Linked DNA regions of Homo sapiens: regions 1 and 2 are each linked to region 3. Evidence: promoter capture Hi-C in 16 types of primary human blood cells and fetal thymus (Javierre and others, 2016). All regions are on one chromosome and are shown on one strand. The core of a region is centred on a gene start or on the middle of the fragment in contact, and the rest is flanking DNA. Distances in the headings are between cores, read along the strand shown. Region 1 overlaps RAD51B (RAD51 paralog B). Region 2 overlaps RAD51B (RAD51 paralog B). Region 3 holds the start of RAD51B-AS1 (RAD51B antisense RNA 1).

Region 1 (2,832 bases), core at 120-2,619, 800 kb before region 3:
GGTTTTTTATTCTGAAACTTATTTAGCTTCACTACTAAGGTAAAATCCTTCTGAAAATTCTGCCCAATGCCCAGTGTATAATAAGGTCTCTTTATTCTTCACCTTGTGTAAACCCGAACTGTTCTCACCCTGTGTGGGCACTAGGAAGTGTTCAGTCTGATACTTTCTGGTGGTTCTTTCCTCAACCTCAAGTAGTTTCCCTTCACACATGTGCAGATTAGTTCTCAAGTGGCCCTCTCTGCAGATCTTTGCAGTGCTCACTCTGCACACCTGCTTCCTCTCTGGTACTCTGCCCCATAAGTTCTAGCCACCTTAGCTTTCCCAAACTCCGATCCCCATCTCCTCAACTCAGGTTGTCTACCAGGCTCTGTTTACTTTCCCTTTCTTGTGTTGCAGCCTGGAAACTGCCTCTGGAGCAAACTGAGGTGATTGTAAGCTCATTGTGTTTGTTTCCTTTCTCTCAAGGATTACAGTCTCAAGCTTTCTATTGTTCAGTACCTGAAAACTCTTATTTCATGTATTCTGTCTGATTTTCTACTTATTATTTTAGTGCAATTCATGTACCAGTTAATCCTTTGTGGGCTAAAGTGGAAATCCCTTCTTTCATTCTCTCTTGAGTTCACTCTATCCAGGCTTAAGTTTCCAGCTCTATAATGCAACTGATTTAAAAAATTTTATCCAACCCAATAGCAGCATTCGAAAGAGTTGATCACTCACTTTTTCTTGAAAAGCTCTCTTCCCTTGACTTTTTATTTTTTTAGACAGGTTCTCACCTAACTCTGTCACCCAGGCTGGAGTACAGTGGTGCTATCATGGTTCACTGCAGCTTTGACCCCTCAGACTCAAGCAATCCTCTCACCTCAGCCTCTCGAGTAGCTGGGACCACAGGCATATGCCACCATGCCCAGCTAATTTTTTAATTTTTAGTACAGATAAGGTTTTGGTATGTTGCCCTGGTTGGTCTTAAACTTCTGGGCTCAAGAGATCCTCCTGCCTTGGCCTCCTAAAGTGTTGGGATTATAGGCATGAGCCACCATGCCCAGCCCACTTGGCTTCTTGGAACTATTCTCTCTTCTTTTACACCTACCTTCTTGGTCACCTCCTCCTCTCAGTCCCTTTTGCTGGATCCTCCTCATCATTTTAACTTCTAGGCTTTGGGGAATCCCAGAACTCAGTCCTAGGACCTTTTCTCTTCTATATCTGTACTCAATCCCTAATATCATCTGGTCTTATGATCTTTAAAATCTTTTATAGGCTGTAACTCCTATTGATATCTGAATTCTGAGCTTTCCCATGAACTTCAGATTCATATTCATTTGCGTAATGACATGGAACTTGGATAGGTTTACATACATGGATTTCCTGATATGTCCAAAACTGCATTTTTGTTTCCCCCATGAAGGAAATAAAACATGCAAATAACACCAATAACCAAAACCTTTATGTGAATCTTGTCTTTTCTGCTTCAATAAAGTTGTGATTCCATTCTTCTAGACACTCACCCAATTAGTCAAGAAATTCTTTCTTTTTTTTTTTGAGACGGAGCCTCACTCTGTTGCCTAGGCTGAGTGCAGTGGCGTGATCTTGGCTCACTGCAACCTCCATCTCCCAGATTCAAGCGATTCTCTTGCTTCAGCCTCCCGAGTAGCTGGGATTACAGGCGCCCGTCACCACACCTGGCTAATTTTTGTATTTTTAGTAGAGACGGGGTTTTGCCATGTTGGCCAGGCTGGTCTTGAACTCCTGACCTCAGGTGATCCGCCTGCCTTGGCCTCCCAGGGTGCTGGGATTGCAGGCGTGAGCCACCGTGCCCGGCCAAGAAATTCTTTCAGCTCCTCTTTTGAACTATATCTTGAGTCTAGTTACTTCTCATCACTTGACCTGTTACTTCCCTGGGTGAGGTCACTACCAGCTCTTAACTGGTCACTACCAGCTCTTATCTGTGCTAGCTGATCTCCTTGCTTTCATTCTTGCCCAAGCCTCTTCTCCATTGGGCAGTTAGAGCAGTCCTTTTAAAAAAAGAAGTCAGATCATGTTGTTCCTGCTTCTAGGCTTCCTATTTTGCTAAATAAAAGCTAAAAAAAAAAAATACCACTTTAGCAAAAAAAAAAAAAACAAAAACCACAGACCTAAAGGTCTTATGTGATCTTGGCCTTGGCTAGCTCTTTGTTTTCTTTTATTCTCCCTCTTACTCTCTGTGTTCCAGATACTTTAGTCTCTTTGTTGTTTCTCAGACACACCAGGCATCTTTCCACATGTAAGCTTTTGCACTTGTTATAATTCTCTATTCTTGTGTGCTGTTTCACTGGGTATCCACATGGTTCATTTTCTTATCTCTTTTAAGCTTTTGCTCAAATGTCACCTTATTAATAAGGCTTTGTCAGTTCACCTGACATAAAATATAAAATAGCGCTAGCCCCACCTGTCACATTCTATTCTCTCATCCTGCTTCATTTTCCTCTACAGCCTTATTACCTCATATATAATATATATTTATTTGTTTGTCTTCCTCAGTAGAATTTAAACCCTATGAGGTAAGGGCTTTTCTTTTTCTTTTGGTAGTGGTGGTTGTTCATTGCCATATTCTCAGCACCCAGAACAGTGCCTGGCATATAGTAGGTCCTCAATAAATATTTGTTGAATGAATGGATCTTAGTGCTCATTTTGAAAAGAATGCTTTTTATAAACAGATATCCACTAGATGGCATTATTTTCAAACTTTATGTAATTAATGTCTGGGAGCAAATGATAGGTTATTTTCTGTTTTTTGCCCTAAACAAAAAAGATCTTTGCAATGAAGATTGTCACAAGAAGTTACTAGGATGAATGTGA
Region 2 (2,700 bases), core at 58-2,557, 850 kb before region 3:
ATGCGCATGCACATACACACATGTGGAGGTAAGAGAGAGCTAGCAAAACGATAAAGTAAATTGGGCAAAATGTTAACGGTGGGTGGATGTGGGAAAAGAATGCATATATATATTCTGTATTGTTTTTATTTATTTTTAATTTATTTTTATTTTAAATTAAAAAAAAAGATACATGGTCTAGCTGTGTCACCTAGGCTGGAGTGCAGTGGCACAACCATAGCTCACTGCAGCTTCAAACTCCTGGGCTGAAATGATCCTCCTTCCTCAGCCTCCCAAGTAGCTAGGACTACAGGTGTGCACCACCATGCCTGGCTAATTTTTTAAAATGTTTTGTAGAGATGAGGGCTTGCTATGTTGCCCAGACTGGTCTTGAACTCCTGACCTCAAGTGATCCTTTCTGCCCTGGCCTCCCAACGTGTTGGGATTACAGGTGTGAGCTACTGCGCCTGGCCTTCTGTTTTTATTAATACCATTTTCCTGTAAGTTTAAAATTATTTCTAGATAAAAAAGTAAAAAAAAAAAAACCTGTGATGTTTGCTGTAAGTAGATATCCTTGATCAGAAATAAAGAACTTTCCTCCATTTCCTAGCTAAAATACTAATTTGGTGTTACATTTTATCAAAAACTTTTTTTTCTGCATTGATTGAAATGATTGTATTATTTTTCATCTTTGGTCTAATAGCATGGTGAGAAACATTTAATAGATTTTTCTGATGTTAAACTACTATTGCATTTTTGGGACAAGTTCAACTTGGTCATGATATATTATCTTTTTTTATAAACTGTTGGATTCAGTTTGCTAATATTTAAGATTTTTCAATATTTAGGATGGATATTCAGCTGTAATTTTCCTTTTAGTAGTGTCTTTGTCTGAATTAGTATTTATCTTATACTAGTTTGGTAGAATGGATTATGGAATATCTCTTTTTTTAATATTCTGCAATAGTTTGCCTATGATGGGAATTATTTGTTCCTTGAAGATTTGGTAGAACTTGTCTGAAAAATTGTCTGATCTTGATATTTTTCCTTCTGAGAAGATTTTTTAAAAATTCAATTCCTTTAATGATTATAGGACTACTCAGATTTTCTATTTCTTCTTGATTAGTTACAGTGAATGAGATTTTTAGGAATTTGTCCATTTTCTTTATGTTTTCAAATTTATTATAATAAAGTTATTCATTACAATCTTCCAGCTCTTAAATCTGGTTTTACATGTGGTTTTTGTCCCCCTTTCCATTTCTGATATTACTTACTTTGTTTTATTTCTCCCTCTCTTTTAAAAAAAATCTTGTCAGAAGTTTGAGTATGTATGTCATCATTTTAAAGAACTCTGCATTTTGTTGTTCTTTGTTGGTCTTCTCTATTATTTCTTCATCTTCTACCTCCTTTATTTCTGCCATTTTCTTATTATCTCCTTTTATTTAATTTTTTTGTGGGGTTATTCTTTGCTTCTAACTTCTTAAATTAGATATTTAATCTATTAATTTTCAGTTTTTCTTTTTACTCTGACCTTTTAAGACTGAATTTTTCTTGAAGCATTCTATTTTGAGATATAGTATTTCCATTTTCATTCTGTTCTAGAAGTATTTAAACATTCCCATCACAATTGCTTCTTTGACTCATGTATCATTTGGAATTTTAAAATATCTAAATTACTTAATTAAAAAAATTTATTTTAATTACATTATTAATCTAATTGCATTTTTGTCAGATAACTTTGCATGATATTGATTTTTTGAAGTTCCCTGAGACATCTTTTAAGGTTAAATATGTGATGAACTTTGATAAATGTTGCACGTGTGCTTGAAAAGAATGATTATTCTCTAATAATTGGGTGCCCTATTTTATTTTAGGTTCAGGGGGTATATGTACAGGTTTGTTACATTGGTATATTGCGTGATGCTGAGGTTTGGGGTACGATTTATACCATCTCTCAGCTACTGAACATAGTCCCCAATAAGTAGTTTTTTTAGCCTTTTTCCCTGCTCCCTTCTTCCTCCTTCTAATAATCTCCAGTGTTGATTGTTCCCATCTTTGTGTCCATGTATACCCAATGTTTAGCTCCCACTTATAAGTGAGAACATGCAGTCTTTGGTTTTCTGTTCCTGTGTTAATTCACTTAGGATAATGACCAAGAGCTGCATCCATGTTGCTGCAAAGGACATGATTTTGTTCTTTTTATGGCTGTGTAGTAGTCCATGGTATATATTTACCACATTTTCTTTATCTACTCTACCATGGATGGGCACTTAGGTTGATTCCATGTCTTTGCTATTGTGGATACTGTGGCAGTGAACATACGAGTGCATATGTCTTTTTGGTAGAGTGATTTATTTTCCTTTGGGTATATATCCAGCAATGAGATTGCTGGCTCAAATGGTAGCTCTGTTTTAAGTTCTTTGGGAGATCTCCAAACTCCTTTGCACAGTGATTGAACTAATTTATATTTCCACCTACAGTGTATAAGCATTCCATTTTCTCTGCACCCTTTCCAGCATCTATTATTTTTTGACTTTTTTTTTTTTTTTGGGACAGAGTCTCATTCTGTTGCCCAGCCCGGAGGGCAGTGGCACTTTTGGCTCACTGCAACCTCTGCCTCCCAGGTTCAAGTGATTCTCGTGCCTCAGCCTCCTGAGTAGCTGGGATTACAGGTGTGTGCTACCATGCCCAGCTAATTTTATTTTTTAGTAGAGATGGGGT
Region 3 (2,985 bases), core at 409-2,908:
AAAACAGGCCCAGCAAACAAAGGTGTTCTCAAGCCCAGTTCAGTCACTGCCTCTGTCCCATGCTCTTAGTCTCATGGCTCTCAGGAGCAGGACACAAGAGACGGTTATGCCCAAGCACAGAACACTCTTGGAAAGCCATCCTTTCCCTTCTGCTGACATTCTGACCCCCTCAAGGGTTGTCCATGGGGAACAGGCTTTCTGCACCCAATTGACCAAAAAATAACAGAAGCCTTCTCCTTAAGAAAGAGAGCAGGCCAGACACAGTGGCTCACGCCTATAATCCCAGTGCTTTGGGAGGCTGAGGTGGGAGAATTGCTTGAGCCCAGGAGTTCAAGACCAGCCTGGGCAACACAATGAGACCTCGTCTCTACAAAAAAACTTAAAAATTAGCCAGGCATGGTCTCAGCTACTCAGGAAGCTGAGGTGGGAGGATTGCTTGAGCCCAGGAGGCTGAGGCTGCAGTGAGCCGTGATCATGCCACTGCACTCCAACCTGGACAATAAAGCAAAAGATCCTGCCTCAAAAAAGAAGAAAGAGAACAGAGCCCTACAGAGAAGGAAGAAGGCAGGCACATTGTCACTTTTGCTCTCAAGCTCCCTGGATCTCTCCTAGAGGAGAGACCCCCAAACCTGCCTGCACTCCGCAGGAGCTGACTGGGGGAGGACCCTTTCCAGGGACACCTCCCTGGAGGTGCTCTAATATTTGGCTGCTTGGCCATTCTGGGCCAAGAAGACTCCTTCCCTAGCCCAGGACCATTAGTCTCCCTGATGATTGCTGCAGAAAGGCCCAATTTTCAGGGCCCTACCTAGCCCTTCAATACCTTTGAGCCACCCATCTTGTCTGAGCCAGAGTCCTAAAGCCAGTCCTGAGCTTCAAGACCCATGCTTGCCCTGGCCACTGCTTCCCCTGGGAGAGCTGCCTGGCTTCCTGCAGAGAGCTGGCCTGCAAGTTGGAAGGGCATATTCTCCTCCCGGCTCCCTGGCTAAATTGCTATAGAATTTCAGGTCACTCAAGTGAACTTTCTGTGACTATTTTTTCCTCCCTTCAAGATTTATCAACTATTAATTGGAGCCTCTAGATGCCTGCAATGTGGAGGTCCTGAGAATTCAATACAGAATAATACAAATGCAGTTCTTCCTGTGAAGCCTGGACAACCTTTCCCTTCCTTCCTTCCTTCTTTCCTTCCTTCCTTCCTTCCTTCCTTCCTTCCTTCCTTCTTTCTTGAGTTTCCTGATGCCAGCTCCTCAGATGGTGAGCCAGCGGTGGGAAGGTAGTGGTGGGGGTGATTATAAATACAATAAGAAATAAACCCACACACTGCAAAACTCCATGTTAATACTATTAATAGTATTTCCAAATTGCATACAGGTAGAAGACAGTTCCTTAGCAACATGATCGTAATGAGAATTCCACAAGGGCATCTGGAATTTACTCTGTCAGACATTCCAGCTTATCAGGAAATGAAAAGGACCAAGACTATCATATAATGTGCAAACTATGCTAATGCCTATCACTAGTGTATATCAGACCCCAGTTACAGGACTGACCCATGGGACTCCCCTTGTCTCAGCTTTAATCACATGAAGTACCTGAGGCCTGTTGTCCTCCTCGGGGCTCAATGCCTTCTTGCGGCCAGGTCCTTCGTATAATTCAAGAGTTGAAATCACTGTCAACACAGCCCTTTGACTAATGTTCCGGGGTGACAGGCCTGGCACGTGAACACATGAGTGATGCTATTATCCCCCAAATCACAGGTGAGTGAGGTCTCTGGAGATGTCCACCCCCACATGAATTTCCCTTTGTGGTAGCAGTAACATCTGAGTCACTAAGCATGGGGCCACAATTTAGGCTCACTCCCTCCCCTTCCTGTGCCCCAAAAGGGGGCTGAAGGCGGGTCCTCACAGCAGAAAAAGCTCCACTTCCTCCGAGCTCCAGACAGCACATCTCAGCTGTGTTGGGCCTTACAAGGCTGCGGTCAACAGGCACCCAGGTGATGAGGTCTTTCTCAGCCTGTTGTTCTCTTGTTAGCCCTTTGATGTTTCAAAGCTGACGAGGTCAGCATCTTCCAGGCTGCAGGAAACATGCCTGCCAGGTATACCTTTCAAGCAGCTGATTAATATGTCATGTGGTCTCTGGTCAGAGGAGAGTGTAAGGGCTGTTGAAATGACTCACCAGCTCAGCTCCCGTGTCTTTGGGAAACGCTACCCTGTCAGCAAGAGGCCTCCAGCTGAAAAGTAAAGACACAGATCTGAAAGGGTACAGTTCTAGCGTCCAACAAACTATTATACATCCTAAATGAAGTGAGAAATGGTAGGCTCTTCACCTGCCAGGGCCTGGCGGGGCCTGTGTCCCAGGACTGCTTAGGAATCCAAGCCTCGCACTGTTTATCCATTATACTGATGAGAAGCCTGTGAGACAGGGAGGCTTGCTGGGCCTCCAAAGTCCACTTGCTGGCTTGTTACTTGGCACCATCAGATCTACGCTAGGGATGGTGTAACTAGAGCCTTTGAGTGCATGAAAAGTCTGTGGCCTGACAAAGCACTTACTGACCAAGGAAAATCAACTTCAGGTGCAGCAGGAAAGGTCTGGTACCCAGAATGTCTGGGGTTTTGAGACACTGGAAAAGATTGCCTAATAATGTCATGGGCTCCCTTCCCTGGAAATAATCTGAAAATAGGATAAGTTCCCTCCAATCTTGGATGGGTCAACCTCGTCTTGAGGTAAGGAGACGGTTACATCAACCCATGGAGAGGGCCTGTCAGCAACTCTGAGTCTATTAGAGGGTATATTTTCAAACACAAAAAACTTTTTATCCTGGTAAAATATACCTAACGTAAAAGCTACCATTTTACCCATGTTTAAGTGTACAATTCAGTGGCATTAAGTACATTCACATCGTTGTATAAGCTTCCCCGTCATCTCTCTCCAGAACTTTTTCATCTTTCCAAACTGAAACTCTGTGCCCATTAAACACTGACTCCTCTT

What was found. Contacts are between HindIII fragments. The CHiCAGO score rates a contact against its expected background, and 5 or more counts as called.
Region 1: a contact is called between a fragment that was not itself captured here and the fragment with the promoter of RAD51B-AS1 in region 3, in 1 of 17 cell types (neutrophils). The highest score is 5.7, in neutrophils.
Region 2: a contact is called between a fragment that was not itself captured here and the fragment with the promoter of RAD51B-AS1 in region 3, in 1 of 17 cell types (neutrophils). The highest score is 11.0, in neutrophils.

What each region holds. Positions count from the first base shown.
Region 1 is chr14:67,881,228-67,884,059 of GRCh38, forward strand. The region is part of intron 5 of RAD51B (RAD51 paralog B); the gene reads left to right. Among named protein-coding and RNA genes, the nearest start is that of RAD51B, 63 kb to the left of the region's middle. The HindIII fragment of the contact is 1,782 bases long and covers 479-2,260 here.
Region 2 is chr14:67,838,294-67,840,993 of GRCh38, forward strand. The region is part of intron 4 of RAD51B (RAD51 paralog B); the gene reads left to right. Among named protein-coding and RNA genes, the nearest start is that of RAD51B, 20 kb to the left of the region's middle. The HindIII fragment of the contact is 6,831 bases long and covers 1-2,700 here.
Region 3 is chr14:68,683,782-68,686,766 of GRCh38, forward strand. It overlaps RAD51B-AS1 (RAD51B antisense RNA 1), which reads right to left and starts at 1,659. Exons shown (of 4, transcript XR_007064220.1): 1 at 1,590-1,659. RefSeq lists enhancers at 1-363, 1,947-1,996. The HindIII fragment of the contact is 3,133 bases long and covers 1-2,905 here.